Linked DNA regions of Homo sapiens: all the other regions are linked to region 1. Evidence: promoter capture Hi-C in 16 types of primary human blood cells and fetal thymus (Javierre and others, 2016). All regions are on one chromosome and are shown on one strand. The core of a region is centred on a gene start or on the middle of the fragment in contact, and the rest is flanking DNA. Distances in the headings are between cores, read along the strand shown. Region 1 overlaps SNHG31 (small nucleolar RNA host gene 31). Region 2 holds the start of SMARCAL1 (SNF2 related chromatin remodeling annealing helicase 1). Region 3 holds the start of PECR (peroxisomal trans-2-enoyl-CoA reductase).

Region 1 (4,889 bases), core at 1,615-4,114:
AGAGGAAAGACTATAACAAACTTTTTCTGTAAGTAACAATGTATAATTGTGCTGAAAATGGGTATGAACTCGTATTTCAACTGATTGGGATTTAAATAATATCCTTTTCTGAAGTTGAACGTAATTAAAACTAGGTTATGTGCTACTTATGTGCTTGGGCTTTGGAGTCAGGCAAACCTGGAACTATTTCCTTGCTCTGCTATCTGTAAGCTATATGTTTTTAGGAAAGTCACTAAATAGCTTGAAGTCCCTTTTCCTCTTCTGTCAAACGGGGTAATGGTGTCTATACTACTGGGTGATTGTTAGGATTATATGATGAATCTGGATTATACAGACTTTTTTCTAGAAAATATAACCAAAGCAATATATTTTTCTCAATGATGTGAGTAAAATCAGGGAAGGAAAGATGATCATGGTGTTTGGTTTAAGAATAAAGAGAACACAACATTATATTTATTTTTATGATTGTATTTTTTGGTTTGACTCGGCTTCCAAATTTCCCAAATTAATACCTAAAAATGGTATGTGTGTATTGTGTGTGTGTATACCTATACTGTATTAGTCTGTTCTCAAGCTGTTAATAAAGACATACCCAAGACTGGGTAATTTATGAAGGAAAGAGGTCTAACTGACTCACAGTTCCACACGGCTGGGGAGGCCTCACAATCATGGCGGAAGGTGAATGAGGAGCAAGGTCACTTCTTACATGGCAGCAGGCAAGAAAGCTTGTGTGGAGGAATGCCCGTTTATAAAACCATCAGATCTCATGAGACTTATTCACTATCACAAGAACAGTATGGGGGAAGCCACCCCCATGATTCAATTATCTCCACCTGTCCCCACCTTTGGCACATGGGTATTATTACAATTCAAGGTGAGGTTTGGGTGGGGACACAGCCAAACCATATCATATACACATACATATATACACACACACTTATATATACATATATACACACACATACATATATATACACACATGCTCTTATTACCTAAAAAAAATTCTGATCAATTTATTATTCTTGAACCTAGAGTTTTTTGTACAGTGGTAAATGCTAGCATTTATTAGGAACTTAATATGTTCCAAGCACTTTTCTAAGTGTATTAGCTTATTTTATCCATATAATAGCAGTAAAGTATTTTCTGTTATCCCTACTTTACAGATGAAAAAATATATAAGCTATATTTTGAGATAGTGAGAAAAGTAACTAAAGGCATGAGCGAAATTTAATAGACTATGTCTGATAATTGTAACTAAATTTTAAGTCAGCGTTCTAAATTCTAAATATATTGCTGAAGGGCTCTTAAGGATTATTAACAATAAGAGTAAAATGAGTCCAATATGAACAAGGCATAATTTCTAAAAGAATATATATGGATGAAGAAAAATTAAGCTGAAATGCATGTTGTAATTGATCATTGCTTTTACAGATAATGGTATATAGTCATTCTTTTTTTTTTATTCCCATATTTATTGAACACAAATTGTATATGAGGCATATTTAAATATATTGGTTACTTCTCACTTGTGCTTTGAATGAAATTTAAATTATTGCATGAATTTTGATTAAACTGATTACAGAATTTTGAAACACAATGGAACCCAAACTAGGGCCAATGCTCATTTCCTAAATGAACATTTTATGTGCAAACAAACAGCTGCTAGAATCCAACAGAATTTAAAACAAGCTGTTTGTAAATTTTACTGACAGCTGTTTTTGGTGATTTTTGTCAACAGAATTTTCCTGCTTTGCATCACAGCATCCTTTTATTATAGTATCCCCTCAAAGTATAACTTGCTTGCTTTAATCACGTTTACAGAGATTTATGACTTGATGCTTATTCAGTGGTAGAGCTTCTCAACACAAAATGTCAGTGAGCCTGTTATAAATTGCTTCTGGCATTCCTACTCTATCTTTTATTTGGCTGGGAGTATTTCCACCTGAAAGTGATAAATTCCTGTTATAACCACTTTATGTGCTTCAGTAATTACACTGTACAGAAAAAGAGGATTTCTACTGAGGTGTCTCCTTAAAAATAGCAAGCAATAAAAGGCAGTGGAATGGGCTGAACTCTGAAGTCTATTGAACAAAAAACAATGACCAGTGAAATATGTGTGTCAGACTGAATTTGATAAATGATCAGGAAGTACAGAAGATACCAAAACCTTTAAAACAACTACTGTGGGGTCATAGTAATGTAACTATGTCCTTAGACTAGTTACTTTTAAGCCTGTGACAGAAATTTGGCAGGTGCCCACAAGAATGGAGTTAACATCCTTTCAAAAACAATCTTAAAATATCTAGATGCTTCTAGAGACTTGGGTAATTCTAAACTAAATGCCAAGGTGTACATGACATAGGGACTGAGTTGGTATGTACTAGTCAAAGAGACTGTGGCATGCTAAAACGGTTCAGTACAGTACACTGCAGCCAATAACTTGATCAATACATATACACACAATTGAACTGATTGAAATACACATTAATCATGATATTCATGGGTGGTTTGTTTGCTTCATATATGCTGTCTCTAGTACGTAGGACAAAATTACTGTTTTTAATTGCTTAGGCTTTTTTTTGTTCTTAAATGAGCAACAAAATGATGTAAATAAAAGATGTTTAAGTTAATGAAACAAAATTATAAACATTTTCATTGTCACGTCCTAATATTATGCCAACGATGGTGTTAGGAATCAGGTGGATACTTTATCTGAGATGATACTAAAAGAGACTATAATCAGTAAATAGGATTTAAGCTTCCTTTCCAGGTGATTGCATTATATTTGCATAGGAATTGCTACTGCAAGTATCTCTGTTCCAATAGCCACAGAATAAGTGGTTCTTTGCTTAGAATATGTACTCTTTCATAGGAGAAATCATAAGCCAGTGTAGCTGGCTTCATGCAACTCAACAATGCCAGTCCTAACAATGGAAAAATATGTTGTGCACTTATTGTGTTTTAAGCTTTAATATATATATTAAAGTTTAGGACAGTCCATTGCAAAGGGATGTCCATTGGTTGTGCTGCACTTCTGGTTTAGGACAGTTTCATAAACTGTAATTCCTTTCTCACCACAACCCTTTGAGTATGAGATTGACATATATTAACCCTAAATTTACAAAAGATGAAACTAAGTTCCAAGATGGGTTACACAATGGACAAAATTGTAGGAAATGTCAAGGCTAGGTTTATAATTCAGTTCTGCTTGACTCCAGATCACCGTGTACTTAATCATTACGCCACATTGAATTTCAGAAAAAAAAACAGCACAAAGCATATGACTTTACCTTAATAGCATCATATAAAGGCAAGCTCAGTCAAATGTGCACAGCACACACCACAGTCCTAGATGCTGGGATGGTCTGCTCTATTCCATCAATTACCATATTCAATTGCTCCTTATCAAATGTTTCAAACTACATTTTTTTGTGGGGGGACTACACTTCATAGAGGGGTGCTTGCAAACAAAATTTGTATCTGACAAAAAGAATGCTCTCAGGAAGTCGAAGTGGCCTTTTCCAGTGCATAATACCATAATTAAAAATCAGAGAAGAATTAATATAAAGGTAAGAATTTGTGAGATATCTTTACACTCCTTGGGAGTAGAGTCTGGGTATTATGGATATCCCATTTTGCTTGTTATATATGTTTATCCAAGTGAATATGAGGAAGATTTACCTCTTTGTAAAACACTTCATAACACAACAGAAGAGAAAACAGCATTTTGACTGTTTTCAACAAACCATTATATAAGCCTGAAGATCAGAAAAGAATTCAAGGCTGGAGATGCCTTCATAGCATGGTAACACTACAGAGGGTAACTGAAGCAGTCGGGGGGATGAGGGTTTAAGTGGGCCTGGAGAGAGGAGGATAGGTAAATAAGGCTGAAGCAAGCTTATCTGCATGCCTCAGAATCCACCCAGGACTACAGTGTTACAGTGGGGGAGGGATGGATGATTTTGAGTCTAGGATACTTGGGAATACTGCTTACTAGGAAGAGAACAGACTAGGAGTGAAATGGAGCAACAAGTCTAAACTTTTATGTACACAGGAGGTCCTTGCAGGGAAAACTCTGAAAAAGAAATGATACCATTTAGCCCTTTTTAAAGTGAGAAGAAGAGGACATTGTTCATGTCCTAAACCATGGCTTTACTGAGACCCTGCTGATGGCTGGAGTTCCCTGCAGAACTTTTTCTCTGGGACAAGAATTCCAGGATTTTACACATTGTTGGATGTACCCCATGGGAGAAGGAATGTGCCCTTGAAACTCAGGATCCAGGGTTAAGAGGAAGAGTTGGTTCAAAACAAACATCCCATCTCCACTAAAGGCAAAGCACCAGCAAGCTAAGCTGTAGAAAAGCAAGGCTGGAAGGAAGAAAATGGAATGGGAAGTTGCACATCGGAGAGTAACCCTGCTTATTCTCTTTATGAGTTTCATTATGGCCACTATTAAACAGCTGCCACGAATGTCATGACCCCTGGGGAGATGGAACAGGACAATGGCAGAAGAAAGGAAAAAAGCAAACAAACAGTAGAAAGAACTAATTGTATCTGCATCATAATTCATTTAATAGCATGGTATGAATACGCCAGTTATAAATGTTTGGTCCCAAATCATTTTACCAAAATGTGAAATTTTCATTTACTCTGATCACAGTTAAATTGTGCCCCAAGTATAGTGGCGCACGCCTGTAGCCCCAGCTACTCGGCAGGGTGAGGCACGAGAATCGCTTGAACCCCTTGAACGCAGGAGGCAGAGGCCACACTGAGCTGAGATTGTGCCACTGCACTCCAGCCTGGGTGACAGAGCAAGACTCTGTCTCCCCCGCCCCCCCGCAAAAAAAAAACTGTGCCCTTAATAAAAAAAAATTGATAAAAATGTTCAG
Region 2 (4,889 bases), core at 756-3,255, 1.6 Mb before region 1:
TAGGCAGCATATGCTGAAATAAAGACCCTGATCAAAAAGCAAAAAGCAGGTCGGGTGTAATCCCAGCACTTTGGGAAGCTGAGGCAGGTGGATCACTTGAGGTCAGGAGTTTGAGACCAGCCTGGCCAACATGGTGAAACCCCATCTCTACTAAAAATACAAAATTAGCCAGGCGTGGTGGTGCACGCCTGTAATCCCAGCTACTTGGGAGGCTGAGGCAGGAGAATTGCTTGAACCTGGGAGGCAGAGGTTGCAGTAAGCCAAGATCGTGCCACCGCACTCCAGCCTGGGCAACAAGAACAAAACTCTCAAAGAAAAAAAAAAAAGCAAAAAGCAAATCCAAAGCTAAAAAGGCATTTCAGAGGCAATATTTCTCTCCTTCTCACATGGTAACTCACATGGTAACTCAATGGTTCGAAGCACTGCCAAAATGGTGAGTAACTCTTCTGATAACTCACATGGCCCAGCCAAGGTGAGTTATCAGAACCTAAGAAAGTTATGCATTGCAACGTAAATCCATCAGATAATGAGAAAGGTGACATTTTTAACCAGAAAGCATAATAGATTAGACTGAAATAGACCAACCAACCACATACCATGGCGTGACACTTGCTAACATAGTCTTTTTCCAACCTAGAAGAAGGAAAAAAGCATTAGCCTCCCATAGCCTGCACACTGAATTCTCCCCTCACATTCACCCCTTTTTATCATTCCTGGCAAATCAGTCTGCCTGTGGCTCAGTGCAAGCCAGAGCAGCTGGCCTTAGGACCTGACTTCCAACACAACACACGGAGCAACTGACTGACTCTCCTGGGAAAATAAGGAGCAGAAAAAAAAAAATTATGTGTTCACTGTGCAAATTAAGATGCTACATAAAGATGTAAACAAAAAAGAATAAAATTACTCTGTAATCTTACCAGCCATCAATAACCACAGTTGAAATTAATAATTTAGAGTATATAGTTCGGATTTTTTTTCATCCATAACAAAATGGCACATATTTAGGAGATATAAGAATTTATTATAAAGTAGGATCATTGTAAACATTCCATATTGCACCCTGATTATTTTTTTCCATGAATTTACCCGGAACATTTATTTTCCTATGAGCTGAGACATGTTTACAATATTTTAGAAGCAGCGGGCAGGACACACCAATTTGTCTGGCTTGGTTCAGACTAAATAGGCTGCATCTAATGTAATGCTGTGTAACGGTTACAATGATGATGTAGGGGTACTCCAGTAGCATTGCTTAGGCCTCTGGGCAGCTATAGGGTTCAAAGCCTTCCTTCCCTGCTGGGGCTCCCTTTGGCCAGAACCCAACCCCCCTCCCCCCTCCCCCACCACGAAGTATCTATCCCCAGAGAACTTCCACCTTCTCCAACCATTAGCAGTTAGGAAGGGGTGAAGAGGTTAGGAAAAGGTTTTGGAGGTGCACAGCAGAAGCCCTCAGTCTCTCTGGGTAACACACTCCTGCCTAAGTTTCCAACCAGGGATCTCCTGCACCTCCAAACTCCCCAGATCCCAGGCCTGGTAAGCTGTCTCCACTAACCAGAGAGACTCGGCCATAAGACCCACTGATCAGCCCCAAACCATAAATCCATTCCGCCACATGGACGCCCCTCTTCCCCTCTAGGCAGGGACCTCTGCCCCCCGCCCCCCACGCCCCGCATTTCGGGGCGAGCCTCACCCAGCCTCAAGGTAAGCGGGCGCCACGCCCCACTCCCACCCCTACGATCTCCACTTGGATTCACCCTTCCCATTGGCCCACTTCCTCCTCCAGGCTGGCATTGGTCTCGTCCGCCTCCGCCGCCTTCCTGCCAGTCTACCACTTTCTCACCCAGGGAGGCCTAGAACGCGAGCCACATTCGCCCCCGGCCCTGACCCCAGGCGCGACTGCAGAGCCTCCCGAGCGGGACCGGTCTTCCGAGTGGACGGTTAGGCCACGGGTATTCAAGCGCTGCGAGTTCGCCAGCCTTATTGTAGCGGCCAGGCCTGAAGGGCTAGGCCACCGCTGAACTACATTTCCCAGCAGGCAACGCGGCCGCAGTTTCGCTTCCAAAAGTAAGAATGATGAGACGAGAACGCGAGCGGGGCTGCAGTGTCTTCTGGGATTTGTAGTTCGGGCCGGGAGCCTGGCGAGAAACGGGAGCTGCAACGTCATGGGCGGGGCGAAAGTGGTGCACCCTGGAAGTTGTAGTTCTCCAGAGGTTTAGCCAAACACTAGGTCCTGAAAGCCTAGGACGTTGAGGTTTCCAAACCCGGAGTCGGCTGTCTCCAGAGGACATCCCAGACAGCCATACTAACTTGGCAGCTCTTAATAAAAAGTATCTCCCCGGGGCATCCATTCCTGGTATTGCTATACTTGCCATTTAAGCCCCACCCGCTGCGCCCGGCTGCCATCATCGTCATCATTGTAGTCATCAGTCATTGTGTTTAGCATAAATATGAGTTACCTCATTTAACCGCACTACAACCTATGGAACACATTCTTGTCCCCCTTTTACAGAGGGGGAAACTAAGACAGCTATTTGATAATATTTCTCAAGGCTTTATTAAGCTAGCTTGTGATTCTGATTCCATAGCCCCTCCTCTTGAGAGAAGATTAGTCATGAGACTTAAAGAGTCACTTTACCCCATCCTGAGCACCAACATCCTGAGCCATCCTGAGCACCATTGGTGATAAATATAACATTTCTCTATCAGTGTGCATATGAATGTTGCTATTGTTCTATTTTCAAACATGGCTCATTTAAAAACAAACAAGTCTACTAAAGGATTTGAAAAAATGGACCAGACATGCTAAGAAAAAGGAAGCACAGCAATGTGTGTAGTTTGATTTTTTTTTTTTTCATCCTTACCTGTACATGTATGTAAACTCATAAAGGTCTGGGAAGGAAACTTAAAAAGTCACCAAACTGTTCAGGAGCAGAGTGGCATGAAATACACTTTTCAGCTTTTTAATCTCTATTTTTCAGAATGATTTGAATTTTCTAAAATAATAATGTAGAATTTGTGTGACTTTTGAAACAATAAATAATCTCCCTTCTTCCTTCCTTCCTTTTTTTTTTTTTTTTTTTTTTTTTTTTTTTTTTTGAGACAGAGTCTCACTCTGTTGCCTAGACTGAGTGTGGTGGTGTAATCTTGGCTCACTTCAGCCTCTGACTCCTGGGTTCAAATGATTCTCCTGCCTCAGCCTCCCAAATAGCTGGGATTATGGGTGCATGCCGCCATGCCTGGCTGATTTTAGTAATTTTAGTAGAGACAGAGTTTTACCATGTTGGCCAGGCTGGTCTCAAACTCCTGACCTCAAGTGATCCACCTGCCTCAGCCTCCCAAAGTGCTGGGATTACAGGTGTGAGCCACTGCGCCCAGCCCATTTGTCTTAAATGACAAAGACATTGCCTGTCTTAGGGGATCTGTGTGAGGTTTAGTAGTAGAAAGTATTCAAATCTCAGCTCTACCCCTTTTATTGACCTGACATACCCAGTGATTGTGCCTCCATTTTCTCATCTGTAAAGTAAATGTAGAAAACAATACCACCTTGGTAAATCTTGTTATTAGAATCAAAGCAAGGTATTATGAGGGGAAGTGCTTAGTGAACTGTGAAATCCCAGAACAGGTAAGAGAGGGATGTTGTTATTATTTGAGGTAAATCTCTTATATCGTCCGTTTCTCTATACCTAGCGCTCATTTCCTACTGTATAGTGTGAACAGAAACTAGTTAATGAACACCTGTCCCTGCCCTTCCTGTCTCCCAACAGTCAGTTAATTTACTAAGAAAGCTGGGTGCCGTGCACTTGACTCATGTCTGTCACCGATTCATATGACCATCACTTCGCTTTCCTGGGCCTCAGTCGTCTCACCTGTAAAATGATACCCTGCTTTGACATATGCTAAGAGGGCCTGTGGACCAGTGGATCCTCATGTTAGATACTAGAATTCTTATAGATTCACAGATCTTACCCCAGAAATTCCAATTCAGTAAGTCTGGAATTGAGTTAGAAGATGTGATTACCTTTCTAGCTCTAACATTCTAAAATTCTAAGAATAGGAAATTAAAATATGCCTTTGAGGCCGGGTGTGGTGGCTCATGTCTATAATCCCAGCACTTTGGGAGGCCAAAGCAGGCAGATCACCTGAGGTCAGGAGTTCGAGACTAGCCTAGCCAATATGGTGAAACCTCATCTCTACAAAACCCCATCTAATACAAAAAGTAGCTGGGCGTGGTGGTGCATGCCTGTAATTCCAGCTACTCAGGAAGCTGAGGCAGGAGAATCGCTTGAACCCTGGAGGCGGAGGTTGCAGTGAGCTGAGATCATGCCATTGCACTTCAGCCTGGGCAACAAGAGTGAAACTCCATCTCAACAACAAAAAAAAATGCATTTGGGGGGAATAATCATCTTCAGAAAGTAAACTAATTAGACCCCACTCAATAGTTGCATCTTTGCTTTGTCAGTAGCATCGTTTACTGAGGTCTTACTGTATGCAAGGCTTTTTAAAAAACTGTATTTCACCAGTTCTTAAGGTAGATTATAATGAAACTTCATTTAGTAAAAAAAGTTTAAAGGCCTGGAAGAAAACACAGGAAACAAGGAGTGAAAGGAGAGGAGAAGACAGCTGTAGCGGTCAAGCTGCAATTTGACTTTGAGCTTCCTAGCAGATAAGCAAAAATGTCCAGAAGTCATATAAGACCTTCAACCAAACACAGCACAGCTGAAGCTCCCAAACACTGGTCACCTGAGCAGTGCCAAAATGGTTCAGAGCATCACCTGGTTGCCTCAGAAACAAGCAAACAAAAGGATAATGTAATGAATATGTTGTAAAACTAAATTTTTACAATTAATTATAAAATCCTGAGAGTCTATTTAATAGGTTTTAAAGTTTAA
Region 3 (4,889 bases), core at 621-3,120, 1.3 Mb before region 1:
GTCATCCTCAGTAGGCATAACCGGTTTGCAGGCCCCAGTCCCTGTTTCACTGGAAGACATCAGAATCCCACTCTCAGTCCGCTCAGCAGCCACACGGAAGCTGCAGCACAGCCAGCTTCCCACTGACCCACCCTGGCACACCTCTAAGAATCTATAGGTCCAGACCAGGGCATAAATCATGTTAAGTTATATCTTCAATAAAGTTATCATTTAAAAGAATTTAAAGTGTCCCCACCCACAAGAAAGAAAGTCTGGACTTCTCTTGAATAAGATACCCCTCAGAACTGAATCAATATTTCTTTTCCTTAAAAAAAAACACCTTGTCATTGGGATCAAACCAAGAGGAGTTATATGTTTCTGCAACAACACTTTGAGCTTTCCTGTTTGAATTTACTTTGTTTTAAAGGAGGTGATGGCGTTGTAATTTTAAAAATTTGGTCCTAACTACAGAATTGACTTAAGTAGTAGAGTTAAGTGATTCCTGGATAAACTATCTAGCAAATGGTAACCAGGAGATTTATTCCTTTCTTTAACGAGTGTAGATTTGAATCTGTCAGCAACAAAGATAGAGGGAGAAGTGATTCTAAAAAGAGATCAGAGAAGGACAAGAGGATGGAGCAACAGGGAAGTGTAGCTGTCCAACAAGAACTGCAGCCTCGCTGGTGGGTGGGACCTGGTGGAGGAAGTGATGGTCTGATTCCTCTGTCAACCAGACCCATTTCCAATTGGCTTTGTGAATCCTAGGTGGTAGGTCCAACAAAAGGATGATGGCATTTATTTGCCTTTATATTATTTTAATACCTGTCCGGGGAAAATGCAACACTCTGACAACAGCCTTAGAAATAGCATCCCATCTGGATTGTTAAGACCACAGCAACTGGCACATTCGACCAAGTTCTTAGGGTGAAGTCTCAGTAGGCCAGTCCAGGTGTAATCTCACTCTGGTGGGTTCAGAGCGGGAAGCAAGATGAAAAATAAGGAGCAGATCTGAATAATAAATCACTGTTACTGGGCACCATAACACAGACGAGAAATTTTCCCCATCCTCAGCGGGCTCACCCTCCTGCACAAGGAATGAACTACAGGACATGATCTCAAACACCTACAGATGCATCTTGCAGGAAGCGTGCACCCTTCAAGGAAAGATCCTCTTCTGGACTCGCTATGCAGCTCAGCTGAAATGGATCAGGTCTCAAACCTGGTAAAGATGATCTTTCCCCTTGATTCTTGGGTGGGGAGTGGGAGGTGAGACGGAGGTGGGCCTGAGTTTATTTTTTCAAATCGTTTATTCTCTTGGTTCTGTGGAAAACTGCAACCGCATCTCCTCTTCCCCTTCACTCTCTTTCCCGGGCTCCCTCCCGAAGGATGAAAGGATCTGAAAGCCGCATTTCTCCCCCTCAGCTAAGCCTGCCCTTTCTCCCCTTCCCAGCCAGCGGCACACAGCACCTGGAGCCACAGCATCGCCGACGTCCGACCCCGGCAGGCGGGCGCAGCGAGGGCGCCGAGCAGCAGCCTTTCTTTTTCCAGCTGCACTGGAGATTTAATTTTAATTAATCGTGAGAGCTTCAGCCCTGAGGATTGAATTTTTGAAATAGAGCACACCCTGCTTGTTTCTTTCTTCTTCTTTTTTTTTTTTTGCATTTCCCTTCCACCCTCCCCAATGGCATCGAAATTTAAAGAAACGAACGAGCAGTCTCACCCACACCTGCCCAGGGACCGACGCTGGCGGAGGTTGCGGACAGCCGGCGGGGAGCGGTTCTGCTCCGGGAGGATGCGGCTTTGCCGCGGCCGGCGGGCGGGGCGGGGCCGGGCCGGGGAGGGTGCGGGGTTCTGGTGGTCACGTGGGCTCGAGCACCGCCCTGTCCGCCCGCCCGCCTCGAATGTCCCTGAGACCCAGAAGGGCCTGCGCTCAGCTGCTCTGGCACCCCGCTGCAGGGATGGCCTCCTGGGCTAAGGGCAGGAGCTACCTGGCGCCTGGTTTGCTGCAGGGCCAAGTGGCCATCGTCACCGGCGGGGCCACGGGCATCGGAAAAGCCATCGTGAAGGAGCTCCTGGAGCTGGGTACGTGAGCGGGCCGCTGGTGCAGAGAGGTGGCTGTGGTGACCTGGGGTAACCTGGAGACGGGAGCCAGGAGCTCTCGGCGGGGCTGAGGGAGTGTGGAGCTGCAGAGCAAAGACGGGGCAGGTGTGGGCGAAATTACGACCACCAGGGAGACAGAAGAGAGCAGCTCTTCCTAAGGAATTGTGGAGCCACTCGTTAAAAACTGAAGAGACCACTCAGGCCAAAGAGACTGTGCCCCAGGTAGGCAGTAAGAAGAGCAGTGAAACATGCTGTGCAATTAGTTTTATATTCAGATTTAAAATTAATCCATTCTATATGCTTAATGTGAGTGATTAGGAAACGTGGGAAGACTTCATTTAACTGGAAAAAGTTGTGAACATAGTGAGTCTCTCATAGTATCTTCTCACATCTCTTAACCACAGCAAGGAAATATGCTGAATATTTACCTTAACTTGGGTGAAGGAAGGCCTTTGTAAACACATAAGTGAGGGAATAAACCACAAAGGAGAACATAAATCAATCTACCTGTATGAAAGTGTAAATCCTCATTGAATTAAAAAAATATATAAAGTTTAAAGGCATATGAAGAAAAATATTTGCAACATAAGATAAATTGTTTGTTGGTTTTGAGATAGGGTCTCACTCTGTTGCCTACGCTGGTCTCGAACACCTGGGTTCAAGGGATCCTCCTGCCTTGCCTCTGAGTCCTAAAGTTTTGGGATTACAGGCTGAGCCACTAGATTCGGCCAACAGCCTTATACATAAAGAGCTCTTACAAATAAAGAAAAAATCCAACACACTGATAGAAAAATTAGACTAATGGTATGGACTAAGCGTTCCAAAAGAAGAACTACAGACAGGCAAGAAACATATGAAAAAATAATCAACTTTATTGGTAATAAAATATGAAACAGTAAGATTTAACTTTTCTAACAAAATTTTGAAATGTTGGGAAAAATTAAAGTGTTGATGCAGGAATGAGAAGGCAGGAATGTAAATTATTACAAACTTTCTGGAAGGCAATTTGGAAAAAAAGATCCAAAAACCTTCACAATGTTTATGCTCTATGACAGTAATTCCTTTTTCAGGAATTTAAGGAAACGGAGTCAAGCAAAGATTTTCATGCAAGGATGTAGTCTTGAGTAGTGAAAAAATGGAAATTACCTAAAAATCCAATATAAGGAAAATAGTTAAATCAATAACAATGAAATATAATGCTTCCGTTTAAATATCTTGCTATTGGTCCTGGCGCAGTGGCTCACGCCTGTAATTCCAGCACTTTGAGAGGCCGAGGCGGGCAGATAACCTGAGGTCAGGAGTTTGAGACCAGCCTGGCCAACATGGTGAAACTCCATTTCTACTAAAAATACAAACCAGGCATGGTGGCGTACACCTGTAGTCCCAGCTACTTGGGAGGTTGAGGCGCAAGAATCGCTTGAACCTGGGAGGCAGAGGTTGCAATGAGCTGACGTCAAGCCACTGCACTCCAGCCTGGGCAACAGAGCGAGATTCCATCTCAATAAATAAATAAATATCTTGCTATTGAAGACTTACTTGGAGAAATGCATACCATATTATTGGGAAAAGTAGAATTCTAAACCTAATAGCATTCCAATTTTACTTTTTTTTTTTTTTTGAGATGGAGTTTCGCTCTTGTTGCCCAGGCTGGAGTGCAGTGGCGCCATCTTGGCTCACTGCAACCTCCGCCTCCTGGGTTCAAGCGATTCTCCTGCCTCAGCCTCCCGAGTAGTTGGGATTACAGGCACGCACTACCTTGCTAGGCTAATTTTGTATTTTTAGTAGAGATGGGGTTTCTATATGTTGGTCAGGCTGGTCTCCAACTCCCGACCTCAGGTGATCCGCCCGCCTCGGCCTCCCAAAGTACTGGGATTACAGGCGTAAGCCACCGTGCCCGGCCCAATTTTACTTTTAATAAAATATATACATGCAGGGCCGGGCACGGTGGCTCATGCCTGTAATCCCAGCACTTTGGGAGGCCGAGGCGGGCAGAGCACAAGGTCAAGAGTTCGAGACTAGCCTGGGAAAACATGGTGAAACCTCGTCTCTACTAAGAATACAAAAATTAGCCAGGCATGGTGGCGTGTGCCTGTAATCCCAGCTACTCAGGAGGCTGAGGCAGGAGAATGGCGTGAACCCGGGAGGCAGAGGTTTCAGTGAGCCAAGATCGTGCCGCTGCACTCCAGCCTGGGCGACAGAGCAAGACTCAGTATCAAAAAAAAAAAAAAGTATTACATATGCAAAAATGGACTGGAAGGAAGTTTATAAGATTTTTAGCCATTTTTCTGAAAATAATGTTAATTATGAGTAATTAAAATTGTCTTCGTCTTTTAAATATTTTTTAATGAACATCTAAATTATCTTTGGTTACGACTGTGTTTCCAACATCTGGCACAGTATGAACTAAAAAAAAAAAATCTATGTTTTTAGTTAAAAAAAAAAAAAAAAGCAAAAACATTTCCTAGTAAGGCCATGATGTAACCTCATCACCATTACTGCCCAGTTTATTCTCAACACCAAGCTCTATCCTCTTTCAGGAATATCTGTAAGAAAATCAGAATCAGTTATCAATTCATGCATAGGTCAGATACTAGGCTTCTCAGCAGATTCGTAGGACCCTAGTCCACTTTGAAGGATTTTTAATAGATTTTTATGTATTTGAACTTTCATCCTGTTGCATAAGTGTGCTATTTGAACTTTCATCCTGTTGCATAAGTGTGCTATTTGAACTTTCATCCTGTTGCATAAATATGCATTGGCCAAAAACTACACCCCTGGAATAAGGTGATAGACTATATTTTTCTTACCAC

Evidence for each region. Contacts are between HindIII fragments. The CHiCAGO score rates a contact against its expected background, and 5 or more counts as called.
Region 2: the fragment with the promoter of SMARCAL1 here is called in contact with a fragment that was not itself captured in region 1 in 1 of 17 cell types (total B cells); the score reaches 5.1 in total B cells.
Region 3: a contact is called between the fragment with the promoter of PECR here and a fragment that was not itself captured in region 1, in 1 of 17 cell types (monocytes). The highest score is 6.3, in monocytes.

Annotation. Positions count from the first base shown.
Region 1 is chr2:214,813,324-214,818,212 of GRCh38, reverse strand. The region is part of intron 1 of SNHG31 (small nucleolar RNA host gene 31); the gene reads right to left. Among named protein-coding and RNA genes, the nearest start is that of SNHG31, 5.5 kb to the right of the region's middle. The HindIII fragment of the contact is 208 bases long and covers 2,761-2,968 here.
Region 2 is chr2:216,409,600-216,414,488 of GRCh38, reverse strand. SMARCAL1 (SNF2 related chromatin remodeling annealing helicase 1) reads right to left here and starts at 2,005. Exons shown (of 18, transcript NM_014140.4): 1 at 1,841-2,005; 2 at 597-633. SMARCAL1-AS1 (SMARCAL1 antisense RNA 1) reads left to right here and starts at 1,989. Exons shown (of 5, transcript XR_001739881.1): 1 at 1,989-2,064. RefSeq lists enhancers at 1,896-1,985, 2,116-2,205, 1,949-2,243. The HindIII fragment of the contact is 8,553 bases long and covers 1-4,889 here.
Region 3 is chr2:216,078,790-216,083,678 of GRCh38, reverse strand. PECR (peroxisomal trans-2-enoyl-CoA reductase) reads left to right here and starts at 1,870. Exons shown (of 8, transcript NM_018441.6): 1 at 1,870-2,061. The coding sequence starts at 1,938. TMEM169 (transmembrane protein 169) reads right to left here and starts at 1,760. Exons shown (of 3, transcript NM_001142311.2): 1 at 1,700-1,760. RefSeq lists a silencer at 1,659-1,918 and enhancers at 2,109-2,158, 2,189-2,268. The HindIII fragment of the contact is 11,582 bases long and covers 1-4,889 here.